Regions from separate parts of the Homo sapiens genome. Here all the other regions are linked to region 1. Evidence: promoter capture Hi-C in 16 types of primary human blood cells and fetal thymus (Javierre and others, 2016). All regions are on one chromosome and are shown on one strand. The core of a region is centred on a gene start or on the middle of the fragment in contact, and the rest is flanking DNA. Distances in the headings are between cores, read along the strand shown. Region 1 holds the start of SETD3 (SET domain containing 3, actin N3(tau)-histidine methyltransferase). Region 2 overlaps GPR132 (G protein-coupled receptor 132). Region 3 holds the start of CDCA4 (cell division cycle associated 4). Region 4 overlaps SIVA1 (SIVA1 apoptosis inducing factor).

Region 1 (3,231 bases), core at 435-2,934:
CTTACAATCACTTGGAGGGCAGACAGGAAAGGGGTAGCAGAAGGCTAAAATCCAAGGTTGTCTGGGGTCCCAATAAAGAGGTTCTGTAGCTGTTTGAGAACTTGGCTTTGCAAACTACTTTCTTAGGCCGAAGAAAAACTCCTCGGTAAACTGTTGGAATTTCACCAAAGTATCAATCACGGCAGCCCTTGGGACTAATCCAGTACTGCTGGACTTTCACGCATGGTAGCCCGTATAAACACAGTACATACAGCAAGGTTCAAGCAAGTCTTGGCAAATTTTAACAGTGGAGAGGAAGACTGCTTTATTTTGCTATATTCTTGGGTTAAATGTATTCGCTTAAAATAATAAACACTTCTCCGAGATTATTACTGGTTAGTTCAGTTTTGAAATACTGGCAAGGTCATTTCAAGAAGAAAAACGGGAGAGGGAGAGGTATATTTTACATAAGATAAAATTCACACTTTTCAGTGTCCGGTTCTGAGTTCTGACAAACGCATTTATAGTGGCCTCATCAGCACCACAATCAGGCTACGAAGATGGGGTAACTCTTCGAGGATTCTTAAAAGCAAAATTGATTTGTCAGCATACTTTAAAAGTATTTTTGCTTTTGAAACATCACCTTATTTATTTAGAAAAGCAAAATAACACGGTCCGAGTGGTCCTAACCCGCGAATGCCTTTGCAACACTGAAATGCCCTCCTCCCAACACCGGCCGGGCAGGGGTGAGCCCCGCAGCCAGGGGCGCGCGTCACTGTCAGCTCCTTTTCCCAAGTGGAGACCGGGAAAAGACAAGAGTTGCATCGCCGGGCTGGAGCCACGAGGAGGAAGAGTTAACGCCGGAATGACAAACTCTAAAGCACCGAATTGCCTCTCCCTAGTAGGGCACTGCGCGTGTGGAGCACGGCCAGGGGCGCGTGGGAAGAAAGACGACCTATTTCCTACGTCCGTCTTCCTAACTGGACGGCGCGGGAGGAGGCGGGGGCTGGTCCCCGGGCACCCTGGTGGGCACCGAGAACTCGCAGAGAGGAACATAAAACCGCACAGCCTTCCCCGAGCAGCGGGGTGACGGGAGGAAGGAAGGAAATGGGAGCGCGACCCGGCCGCGCGCAGAGCCGAGCCGACTAGCGCGAGGGGCCCGGGCCCCACCCGAGAGCAGGCGCGAGGGCCGGGGACAGCGGGGCAAGCTCGGGGAGAGCGCTGCCTGCACCTGGCACCACCTCGAGACCGGGTGGCGCGGGGCCCGGGAGCGTGGGCGCCAGAGGGGACAGGGCAGCGGCGAGCGCGCGCCTCTCGCCCCGCAGGGCGCCCGGGCAGAGGCCGACCGGCGCCCTCCGACCCCGCCGGGCCCTCCTCGCCCTGGCCCCCGAGCGCACACCTGCCCCTTCAAGCCCCGGGGCCACAGCGGCCGGCGGGGACCCTGGCGGGGGCGCGGGCCGGACTTCGGCCGAGGGGCGCTGGCCAGGGCGAGGGACGGCCTCGCAGAGCTCGGAGACGCGGCGCGAGTTTCCCCCGCGGGCCGCGCGGGCGCAGAGACCGCCGCCAGCACTCACCTGCCCGCTTCCCCTAGCGCAGCGGGAACGACGTACTCCGGCCCGGACCCCGCCGTCCGCCTCAACCAACCCCCAGGCGGTGGCGGCGGTGGCGGCGGCGGCGGCCGGACGGGAGGGGCGGGACGGCAGCCTGAGACGGCCCCGCGACCGCGGCCCAACGCTTCTCCTCCCGCCCCGGACCCCGCCCCCGGGCCGCAGCCGCCGCCGTTCATTGGCCCACGCTTCGGACGCATGGGCGCGGCCCCGCCCCGCCACCCAGCCGGCGTTCCGTTCGGGGTCCTCCCCAGCCAGTGGGCTGGCAGCTCCCGGGGGCAAGAGCGGCCGGCTCAGCCGCCGCCAACCACGATGTCGCAACTGGCTGCGTTCGCCCCCGCCAGAGCTTTGATTGGACGAATCTCGACCCGGGCCCCGCCTACGCGCCCAAGTTCCGTTAGCAGGTTCGGTTGCTCCAGAATGCCTTTTCGCCCCGAGGGGCGGGACCGACGGGATGGGCCCTGTGGCTGGCTCCTCCCTCTGTAAGCAGCAGCCACTGACCCGCGGGGCGGGCGGGGAGGAGAGCGGCGGCTCGTTCCTCTTTTGAGAGCTCTGCTTTCTTCCCATTGGTTGACAGGCATCCTACTCTCTCCGCCCCTCCGGTCGCTTGGTGGCGTCTCAGGACGCAGCGTGATGACGTAGGTCCCCGACATTCCATATACAAGATGGCCGCAGTCGGCAAGGAGAGACGTCGCTGAGGGGCTTGCCTGAAGCGAGGGGTGAGTGACCCACCGACTGAGGGCAGCGCCGCCCACCTCCCGCGTATCTGGAGGTCGGAGTAGGTTATGGCCAACCGCCGCTATCCACTGGCGGAGTCTCTCTTTCCGGATTCTGCCTCCCTCCGCTAACCTCCGGTACACATTGAACTTTGCGGGCGACGCGGGGTTGTGGGGCGGGCGTGTAGAGAGGGTCTGAGGCGCCGGGGCGGGGCAGGGAGGCCGGACTCACCCTAGAACTGGTAGCGGCCCTCGCACTGGGGGGCAGTCAGAGTTGGGGAACTTTCTAGGGGTTGGGCAAAAGGGGCAGCGGTGTTAACCGCGCACAGTCTCACAGCCACAGACTTCTCATATCTCCCCGATTATTTCGCGGCGTATTAGTCCCAACCTTGGCTAGGCCTGAAACTTTTTGGAGGTTGTTCCATGTCTAGGGTACTCCGACTTTGGAGTTTTGGAGAGCCACGTAACGAGGGTGCGGCTAAGATGAGGAAAAGGCACTTCCGGGATTAGATTTCGTTCTTGCCCAGACATCGTCTTTACGGACCCGCTCCTGGTGGTTGATTTGGTTTGTTATGAGAGAAATTGTTCTTTAGAAAATTGGAGCGTAAGTCTAGAGGTTATGTGACAGCTCCTAAACGATTGTCTGCCCAAGATAGGCTCGGTAATGCTCCCTAAATTTAGACTGCCAGTTAAACGGAGCTTTCGCTAAGTCATCTGAGGTTAGGAACTATTTCTAAGAGCATTTCTTAAGGGTGGTCTTCTGTGTTTTTAAGAGAAACTTGGTGATGTTTGTGTATCTCGATCTAAATCGCTGTTTACAGATACCTAGCACAATGCCTTGCAGTTGTAGGTGCCCGCTAAAGGTTTGTATGAATGATGTTGCTAGAATGAAAGCGAGGAGCTTTCAGCGCCTAGAACACTGCCTGACG
Region 2 (3,231 bases), core at 427-2,926, 5.6 Mb after region 1:
TGCAGGGCTCCCCTGGGACCTGTGGGACAGCCCCCTGACTCAGTACTGTGTCGCCCTCCCAGGAGCCACCAACTATGCCCTCATTCCCGTTCCTGGCTTCCCAGAACTTCACGAAAGAATTATGAAATCAGTCCTTCATTTCTCCATGTAGCACCTCTAGATTTATTATTGCTGAGCTAGTTTTTATCTCGATAATCTATTTTTATGCGTTAATTTTTGAATTATGAGACAACATGCTTCATGGAAAAATTCTCATGGGCTTCCTCTTACATGTTCAAAGTCGGAGAAGGCTCTCTCACCTGGCATATTTTGCGGGTTCCAATCTCAGTGTGGCTCTAAGATAAGCTTTCTAAGTACATGTCATGCGTCTTGTCGGTCCTATCAAGACGTTCACTCTGAGAGTTTAAAATGACCTGGAAAAAGAGTAGGTTGAAATTGTTTTAGGGAAATCAGATTGAGTCACAAGTTAACCCATTGACAAACGGCTAGTGAGTATTTACTAATTTACTAAGTGGCCCGTTGATTCGTAGGTGTTTTTTAAATGTTGAGAATCTGCCGTTGCATCCCACATGAGAAACACAAGCAAGGCTCCAAGCCAACAGGCATCAAAACGTCACATTAGCCACTGCGACTACATACGATTCTTTTTTTTTTTTTTTTTTTTTTTTCTTGAGATGGAGTCTTGCTCTGTCGCCCAGGCTGGAGTGCAGTAGCACAATCTCGGCTCACTGCAACCTCTGCCTCCCGGGTTCAAACTATTCTCCTGCAGCAGCCTCTTGAGTAGCTGGGAGTACAGTCGCCTGCCACCACCCCCAGCTAATTTTTTTTTTTTTTTTTTTGAGACAGAGTCGCACTCTGTTGCCCAGGCTGGAGTGCAATGGCATGATCTCGGCTCACTGCAACCTCCGCCTCCTGGGTTCAAGCGATTCTCCTGTCTTAGCCTCCCAAGTAGCTGGGACTACACACACGCGCCACCATCCCCAGCTAGATTTTGTATTTTTAGTAGAGACGGGGTCTCACCATGTTGGGCAGGCTGGTCTCAAACTCCTGACCTCAAATGATCCACCCACCTCGGCCTCCCAAAGTGCTGGGATTACAGGCGTAAGCCACCGCACCTGGCCTAGGTACTCTTCTTGTTTGTCAATTATACCTTTATAAAGCTGGGAGAGAAAAGAAAGTTGATGAGCTTTCACAGAAAACATAAAAATAGCTCCTAAAGGCCAGGTGTGGTAACTCATGGCTGTAAATCCCAGCCCTTTGAGAAGCTGAGGTGGGAGGATAGCTGGAGTCCAGGAGTTCAAGACCAGCCTGGGCAATATAGTAACACCCCACACCTACAAAAATATAAACAGGCATGATGGTGCACACGTGTAGTCCCAGCTACCCAGGAGGCTGAGTTGGGAGGATCGCTTGAGCCCAGGAGGTAGGGGTTGCAGTGAGCTGTGACTGAGCTGCTGCACTCCGGCCTGGCTACAGAGAGAGACCCCGTCTCAAGAAAAAAGAAAAGCTCCTAAAATCTGAAAAATGTTCAACTCCACTTCTAATCAAAGAAATGCAAACATGAATATCTGAAAGACAGTCTTTTAAAATCTTTTTTTGGCCTATCATGTTGGCAAAAATAAAGACCTTTTAAACTCATAGTGTTTGAGAGTAGGCAATGGGTGCCCGTACACGGGACTGACGGAAGTATGAATTGGCTCGCAGCAAAATTTTGCAATATGTTTCCAAAAATCTCAAATGTGCTCTACTTTTGACCTGGCTGATCCCCTTCTAGGAATTTTTCCTGGCTACCCGAGGTGTGACGTGCACATGGCCTGGAAGCTGTGTCACCCACAGCATGAGGGGCCCGGAGGAGGGAGGCATGATGGGCGGGCAGCAGATGGCTCAGGGCATGCAGGGGGGTGGCGCAAGGCGCCCAGGGGCCTGTCCCTCTGCTTCCTTCCCTAACCTGAGGTGCCTCTAAAACAGGCACCACCCTGACCAGCCAAAGAGGGTTTGCAGGGAGGAGAGCGCCCTAAACCCATCCTCAGATGGTGTTTGTGCCTCTCCCACAGCCCTGCAAAGCCTGAGGGTCTCGCTCTGCTGTTTCCGGGCCCTGCAGTGCAGGGATAGAGGCTGAGCCTGGCGGCTGCCTCACTAGCTCCAATCCTGCCTCCCTGGTGCCAGGCCCAACCCCCACCCCATGCTGCCTGGTGCTGCCCTCTATCAGCCGAGACCCTCATGGGAAGCCAGCAGGTGCAGTCAGTCTCCCAGTGCACACTCCCCTCCCAGGGCAGGGCCGGCCCGGCTGCGGGCAGAGCCCCTACACAGCAAGGCCCCTTTGGGCCCGAGGCCTGTATGTTGAGAGGCTGGCCAGGGGCACTCCCTGGAGCCACTTGCTCTTCCCGCCCATCCCACGTGGCTCTTGCAGGAATTCTCTGGAAGCTGCTCAAAAGTGAGGCAGAACCCAGGGACACCCACACCAAGGGCTCTGGGCCAGCAGGTGGGGCTGCCTGTGTGTTGACATCCCCAGCTGCCCTTTCAAGTATATTTCTGTGAAAGGAAAGTATCTTGGGCCCCTTCAAGCTGGGAACTGCTCAGCGCCGATCTGCCTGGCGTTCTATTCAGTCATCCCTCTGCTCACTGAGACAGATGCATATTCTGATGCCTCCTTTGGAGAGACTTATCAGAAACTGAAAACAATGCAACCATTTGTCTCTCGCCTACCTGTGTAGGCGAGAGACAAATGGTTGGGAAGCCCCCTCCCTGCTTCGAGTTGTCCCCACCTTTCTGGACGGAACCAATGTACGTCTCACATATATTGATTGATGTCTCTTGTCTCCCTAAAATGCATGAAACCAGGCTGCGCCCGACCACCCTGGGCACGTCATCAGGACTTCCTGAGGCTGTGTCACAGACGCGTGTCCTCAACTTTAGCAAATAAACCTCCTAAAATGATTGAGACTTGTCTCGACGTTTTTTAACAACTGGAAAAACAGGAAGCCACAATGTTCTCCTGAGATTACAGGAAGCTTGTTAACTTATGGAGAATTTTAAAGCAATACCTTGAAAACACATGAAAAAGTGAGACACTGAGTCAAGAAAGAAACAAGAAAAGCCATCTCCAAAGTGATGCCCCCTTGGCGGTGGGTGGTGTGGGCCGGAGGGGTTCCTGGGCTACCCATTCTGCCACCACCCTGCCACTGGCTGGAGTAAGTATGCACTGCTCCCTGCATCTCGGGCCAGCCCCCT
Region 3 (3,231 bases), core at 533-3,032, 5.5 Mb after region 1:
GCCCCGCAGTGCTGCTCAGGCAAGCAGAGTACAGCTCGGGGACTGGTCCTTCACTACAGCAGCAGTGGCCACACCTTCGTGGCTGAGCAATACCACGAGGCTGGCTGAAAACGCAGATTCCCAGATTCTGATCAGTAGGGCTGGGACGGTTGGGGACAGACTCAACTCTGACCTAACCTGTCACCTTCACAGCTGGACTTGCAGCCACTTCAAAGTTTCGGGTTTTTAAGCAAATCATCAACAATTTCCATTCCTCACACATCAGATAAGCTTTGAAATACTTTATCGGAAAAACAGGGAGAAGAGGAGCAAGGTCTGCAGTCTTGAGTACTGAGTGGGAGCTCCACCTTCCACTACAAGTCTCCTGGAGGCTGTTCATGAACAATTACTGTTATGTTAATTTCAGGTATTTGGTTTTTTTTGTTTTTTGAGACGGAGTCTCGCTCTGTCGCCCAGGCTGGAGTGCAATGGCACGATCTCGGCTGAGACCTCTGCCTTTCTGGTTCAAGCGATTCTCCTGCCTCAGCCTCCCACATAGCTAGGATTATGATTACAGGCATGCGCCATCACGCCCAGCTAATTTTTGTATTTTTAGTACAGACGGGGTTTCACCACGTTGGCCAGCTAGTCTCGAACTCGGGACCTCAGGAGATCCACCCGCCTAGGCCTCCTCTCAAAGTGCTGGGAGGTGTGAGCTACCGCGCCCAGCCAATTGCAGGTACTTTTGTTACTTGGAACGAAACACACTCCTTCTTTTCCCTGAAAACATGTTCCAGTGGCAAGTTGAGGGAAACTTCCTAGCCCCTTTTCCAAGATACAGCCTACTACTCTTCCTAGAAAAGGGGTGTAACTCACTTTGTATTCTGGATTTCCACCCTAATTATAAAACACGGTGACACTTGAAAATAGAGTGGTTGTACGTAGAAAGTTGATAAAACGTAAGTTTTGTGAACAGGCAATGTTTTTCTGTGGCTCGCTTTGAGAGAACGGTTATCTGGGTCCCGCCGTCCCGTGCGTCCCACACGAAGGCCACAGGAGAAGCGAGGCAGCGGAGACCCTCTATTCCAGCAAGCTGTCGGAGCCTTTGCCACGACGATCCTGTTTGCGGGGCGAGAAGCGTCTGAAGACGCGGAGGGAGGCTTGCGTCTGACTTCTGCAAGTGTCTCGGGGACTTTCCCTAGTCCCACCTCGCACCGCCGGAGGAGCCCAGGGAAGACGGCGCTGGCCGACCCGCCCGGGGTCTGGGCCTCCTCCCACATCCGCGGCCCTCTCCGCGGCCGGGCTCCGACAGAGGGGGCTGCGGCGCGCCTGGCGTTCCCTCCGCTGCAACTAGAGCCGAGGTACGGGAAACGCCGCTGCGTACCCCAGCCGGGCCCTCGTGAAGCGGCTCCCGCGTGGGGCCGCCCGCAGGCCTCGGCAAAGCCCCAGCTCCGCGCTCCGCAAGGAACGCAGACGGCGGCCCGGGCCCCTCTGTTCCCCGGGCCCCCTCAGCAGCGGCCACCCCGCGGGGGAACCAGCGCCCAGGAGGGCGGCGAGGGCGCCGCGGCAGCCCCAGCGGTGGTCCCGGGCGCCGCCTCCGCCCCGGACCCAGCGCCAGGAGCCACAGACTCCGCGCACCGCCCCCAGGCTCCTCCGCGCCCTGCAGCACAAAAGTGCACGCCGCCGTAGACGCCCTAGCGGTCCGCCGGGCCCGCTCACCTGACCCGCGAGGCCGCCCGCCGGGTCCTCTGCTCAGCCACCGCCACCGCCGCTGCCGCCAGCTTCCCGCCGCTGAGGAAGGAGCGCCCGACGGCGCGGGGCGGGGCGAGCGACCGCCACTCGGCGTCCACAAAGGGTCGACGCTGCGCTCTCCGCGCGCTACGCCCGCTGATTGGCCACTCGCGGGCCGGGGGCGGGGCCTCTTGTTCAAACCCACGCGGGCGGGGCATCTGTGGCGCGTCTTCCCGCGCTGCGGCGACGGCCGTTGGGGCTCGCGCGCGCCCTCGGTTGCCCCGCCCCCGCCCCTGCGCCCGGCCCCGCCACGCCCACGCCCCGCCGGCTCCCAGGTCTCCCCGCGCCCAGTCCGGCCCCGCCCCGCCAGCTCCCAGGTCTCCGCGCGTCTGGCCCTGAACTGAACGCGCCTGCGCCTGGGGCCCACGTGGGGCCCTCGGGCGGGCGTGGCGGGGCAAACAGAGGTTTGGACTCTCTCGCTTCTGCCTGGCTCAACTTCTCCGCCGAGGCATCCGTGCCGGGGTCGGGAGGAGCCGGGCACGGCAATTCCCGGGCGGTCTGGGCTCCGAGGTCTATCCAAGCCTCTCCAGAGACCGGGGTTATCTCCAAAGGCTTCCTAGGTTTACACGTAAGAAATGTAACGTGAAAGTTCAAAGCAGGGGACACGTGTTTTAAATCTCTTAGTGGAAAAGGTTTTAAATAGGATGCGAGAACCTGCAATCATTGACTTAAGTAATACCCTGAGCGCCTGCAGCAGGCCCGGCAGGCGTGGCTGCAGCTGAGAGCCAAGTGCTGGAAGTTGGGGGGGAATCCTCAGATCAATCCGCAGGTGCGGATGCGCCAAGGTCGGTGGTAAATGCTGAAATGCTGTCGGGAAACCTGGGAGTGACGTGGGGGCGCTGCTCACATAGGTCTCTAGGATAAGGAGCGTCTTAAAGCACCAAAAGGAAGAGTGGACGAGAATTCAGGAGAGGAATGGCTGGGGCAAAGCCCGAGGCAGGGGCAGGAGGCAGGAGCACGTCTCAGTGCAGTGAGAAAGAACCCTGTGATCTCGTGGGAAAGTTTTAAGTGTGAGGGGTGGAGGGACTTTTGGGCTATTCTGGGAGTGGGATGGAGACTACTGGCATGGTCAGCAGAGAAGGAACTGGAATCTGAATTGTGCTTGAAAAGAATCACTGTTCTTATTTAAAAAAAAAAAAAAGGGGGTCTCTTTCGCCCAGGCTGGACAACAGTGGCGTGATTATGGCTCACTGTATCCTCGAACTCTTGTGCTCGAGTGATTCTCACGCCTCAGCCTCCCAAGTAGCTGGGACTACAGAAGTGTGCCACTACACCAAGCTAACTTTTTTTTTTTTTTTGGTAATTTTGTAGAGACAGGGTATTGTCTTGTTACACAGGCTGGTCTCCAACTCCTGGCCTTAAGTGATCCTCCTACCTTGGCCTCCCAAAGTTCTGGGATTACAGGCATGAGGCACCACAACCACCAAGAATCACTGTTGGTAATAGATTTGGAGGAGGTGG
Region 4 (3,231 bases), core at 85-2,584, 5.3 Mb after region 1:
ACTGTGGCCTGATGGAAAACCACTGCTCCCAGGGATGGGTGGGTGTTCTAGAACAAGAGGTCTGGAAGGTTCTGGGATGCTTGTCTTGCCAGCAACTCTGTAGCAGGTGAAGGGGGTGTGCTCTGGCCAGAGGCTGTAGGCCCAGCTCCAAGCCTCTGGCTGCTTCCTTGGCAGGGGACGAGTTTTGTGAATTAGTGCTCCACAGTGCAGAGCTCCCTCTGTGCATTCCACAGAGCCTGGTTTCCAGGTGGGGAGTGCTGGGGAAGCAGAAAAGGGAGAAAGGGGACAAGCTTAGTGAGGCGAGGCCAGCCGTGAATTGCAGAAAATGAGCCGAGTGATAGGAGAGGGAACCCTTGCATCAGACACAGGTGGGGCTGCAGGGCCAGAGCCTTCCTGGAGGAGATGACAGCTAAGCCAGGTAAGGAAAGGACGCACAAGCATTCTCAGCATAGAGGCAGAGCAGGACCCAGCTCGCCAGGGCACAACACAGGCTGGGGTTACTGGGAGACAGAGGGCACACAGGAGGACGATGGGGTTCATGTGAGGCTAGAAAGACTCAATGGCCATGCAGGGGCTTCGTTGGTACACAGTGAAGGACGTGAGAATGATTTATCTTCCCCCAGAGAAGACCAAGCGACTCCTGTTCCTCGGGGCCCAGGCCTACCTGGACCACGTGTGGGATGAAGGCTGTGCCGTCGTTCACCTGCCAGAGTCCCCAAAGCCTGGCCCTACAGGGGCCCCGAGGGCTGCACGTGGGCAGATGCTGATTGGACCAGACGGCCGCCTGATCAGGAGCCTTGGGCAGGCCTCCGAAGCTGGTGAGTGGCACCAGCAGCCCTTTGTGGCTGTGGCACTGAGGGCAGGTGGTGGCACGAGCATTTTTCTTGATTTGCAAGGTCAGGCTTTTCCTCCCTGGGTAAGCAGGACTCTGACCCAGAGCTTGGCCTTCTGGCTCAGAAGGCTCCTGTTATCAGGAGGTCTCACATTCAAGACTGGAAGTTGTTAAACAGCTTCTAAGTACTGGGCCAAAAAAGCAGCAGAGACTCCCCGGGTATCCCGTCTGCTTTCCGCCTGCAGCCCCCTCAGATAGTCCCACAAGGCTGGAAACATGCCAGTCCCATCCCTATGCAGTGTGGGGTCTCAGAGCATCACCTGTGTTGCTGGTTAGAAATGCAATCCCCGACTCTACCTCAAGTCTGGTTGGTGTGTCTAGGAGGAGCCCAGGCACCTCTTTGTTAACCAGTAAGGCAGTGGGCCACACTGAGACCCAGATGGGACACATGGAGTTCTGACAAGCAACAGGGGAAGAATGGTCCTTCCAGCACTAGCCTCCAGGTAGCAGAGGGACCTGGTAAGGGAAAGAGCACTGAACTTGGAGTCAACTACAGGCATATCTCACCTTGGATCTCTGTAGTAAAACGGGGGTCCTGTGCACTGTACCAGGCTCACGGGTTGTCAGAAGGATCCAGTGTAGGTGGGGATGGGGTAGGCAGGTCAGAGCCCTCTGCCCTCAGGTATGCATGGAGGCAGGTAGCCCGGCAGTCCCGGAAACTCCAGTCTCCTTGCAGCCTGACGGCTTGGCGTTTCTTCCTCACAGACCCATCTGGGGTAGCGTCCATTGCCTGTTCCTCATGCGTGCGAGCCGTGGATGGGAAGGCGGTCTGCGGTCAGTGTGAGCGAGCCCTGTGCGGGCAGTGTGTGCGCACCTGCTGGGGCTGCGGCTCCGTGGCCTGTACCCTGTGTGGCCTCGTGGAGTAAGTACTTCAGTCCCTGGAGCTGCTGAGATCCCATAGCCCCAGCAAGCCGTGATGGGGGACGGGTGGGTCACCCATGTGGGCCCAGAACACACACGTGTGGCCCCTGATGCAGTGCCATCTGGCATTGCCTAACGGGACATGGTGGCAATAGATGCTTGGCCCAACTTTAGTGGTTAGTAATCCTCTCTAAGGGAAAGCTGAACCTCACAGATGACCTGCTCTGTATCCGGCTCTAGTCCCTGTCTTCAGCCACTTCCTGTTCTGATCTTTGAGCACCCCCACCTCCTCCTCCTCTGGTCTTTGAGCCCCCCCTCCCCCCGTCCGAGGAGCCCCTGGTTGGTGACACAGGTGCACACCGCAGCTTCACCACAGTCATGCGTGCCGTTTGGTTGTAGACCCTCTCAGGCAGGAAGTGGAGTGTTTGTGTAGTCTCCCATTTGTGGGTGGGTTTGCTGCAGCTGGCTGGATCCCGTCCTTACTCCTAAGGTGGGGAGGGGCGTTCTCACCCTAGGGGCTACTCACCTGGTGGATGGGAGTGGACAGTGTGGAGCCTGTTTGCCCTGCCCCGTGAGAAAGATGACTTCATCCAGACACATGTGGAACTGGCTCCATAGACCCAAAGCAAGCTTAGTCCAAACAATGTCTGAAATTGTCCATCTAAAATAGAAACCACATGTTACATCTCGAGTCCTTTCTCTCGAGCCTTTCTTCAGTCGGGGCAGAGGCCCAGACTCATTGGAGACGGAGAGCCCTGGGCAGGGGGGGCAGCACCAGGGAGAAGCGCCGCGTGCCAGTGATCGGCTCCCATGGCTTCAGCATGGGCAGGAGTGGGGTAACGCACCCCATCCAGGTTGGGAATCATCTGCAGGGCTAGCTATGAATGTGGGATACTCTGTCTTTGCTTTTCACCCGCTGAGTTCATCTTCTTTCCTAGAAGTAAACTGAAAAGGGCAGGGTTTTCTCATTGTCTGGTGGCCCTCTCACCAAAGCAGAAGTGAACATAGCCATGGGCAGGTTCAGCGGAGAGGTGGGTCCCAGAGCGCTGCGTGGCTGGCCTCCCACTCCTGCCCTGCACACCATCCTTGAGGGACTCCCTTGCGCCCATTTCCTCCTGGCCTCTACCTACTTTCTGCTGCTGCTTCCTCCCATACCCACAGAGTTCACGTTGAGCTGAGTGGGCCACTGTCCCCACTGTGGACACACTCTTTTATCGCAGCTACAGCACAGGAGGTGGGCTCTGCCCTCTTTCACAAATAAATGACTTGTTCCAGGTCACAAGCCAGAAGTGGCATTCCCAGGCCAGGCAGCCCAGCTGGTGGCACCCGCAGTCTCCTACCCCCTCCCCTGCCATTTCCTACTTCAGGACCAGGCGTCGCAGGAGTGGGGGAAAACAGGGATCTGTCCACACGGCTCTGGTTTAACACAGATGCAGCCCAGCAGCCTTTGGCGTCCTGCTGATGGCCTGCACTGGCCC

The links. The method cuts DNA at HindIII sites, captures the fragments that hold promoters and counts their contacts. A CHiCAGO score of 5 or more calls a contact.
Region 2: a fragment that was not itself captured here is called in contact with the fragment with the promoter of SETD3 in region 1 in 1 of 17 cell types (neutrophils); the score reaches 14.3 in neutrophils.
Region 3: the fragment with the promoter of CDCA4 here is called in contact with the fragment with the promoter of SETD3 in region 1 in 1 of 17 cell types (neutrophils); the score reaches 5.7 in neutrophils.
Region 4: a contact is called between a fragment that was not itself captured here and the fragment with the promoter of SETD3 in region 1, in 1 of 17 cell types (neutrophils). The highest score is 5.6, in neutrophils.

Annotation. Positions count from the first base shown.
Region 1 is chr14:99,479,175-99,482,405 of GRCh38, forward strand. SETD3 (SET domain containing 3, actin N3(tau)-histidine methyltransferase) reads right to left here and starts at 1,685. Exons shown (of 13, transcript NM_032233.3): 1 at 1,554-1,685. It overlaps CCNK (cyclin K), which reads left to right and starts at 2,235. Exons shown (of 11, transcript NM_001099402.2): 1 at 2,235-2,305. RefSeq lists enhancers at 816-1,317, 2,126-2,495 and silencers at 1,166-1,365, 1,476-1,935. The HindIII fragment of the contact is 7,554 bases long and covers 1-3,231 here.
Region 2 is chr14:105,056,868-105,060,098 of GRCh38, forward strand. It overlaps GPR132 (G protein-coupled receptor 132), which reads right to left. Exons shown (of 4, transcript NM_013345.4): 2 at 300-413. Among named protein-coding and RNA genes, the nearest start is that of GPR132, 6.9 kb to the right of the region's middle. The HindIII fragment of the contact is 2,666 bases long and covers 344-3,009 here.
Region 3 is chr14:105,019,301-105,022,531 of GRCh38, forward strand. It overlaps CDCA4 (cell division cycle associated 4), which reads right to left and starts at 1,783. Exons shown (of 2, transcript NM_017955.4): 1 at 1,699-1,783. RefSeq lists enhancers at 1-508, 960-1,475, 1,990-2,503, 2,519-2,578 and silencers at 1,129-1,218, 1,229-2,118, 2,149-2,218. The HindIII fragment of the contact is 6,687 bases long and covers 269-3,231 here.
Region 4 is chr14:104,755,007-104,758,237 of GRCh38, forward strand. SIVA1 (SIVA1 apoptosis inducing factor) reads left to right here. Exons shown (of 4, transcript NM_006427.4): 2 at 624-818; 3 at 1,598-1,754. LOC107987209 (a long non-coding RNA gene) reads right to left here. Exons shown (of 3, transcript XR_001750915.3): 2 at 1,400-2,414. Among named protein-coding and RNA genes, the nearest start is that of SIVA1, 3.5 kb to the left of the region's middle. The HindIII fragment of the contact is 2,093 bases long and covers 289-2,381 here.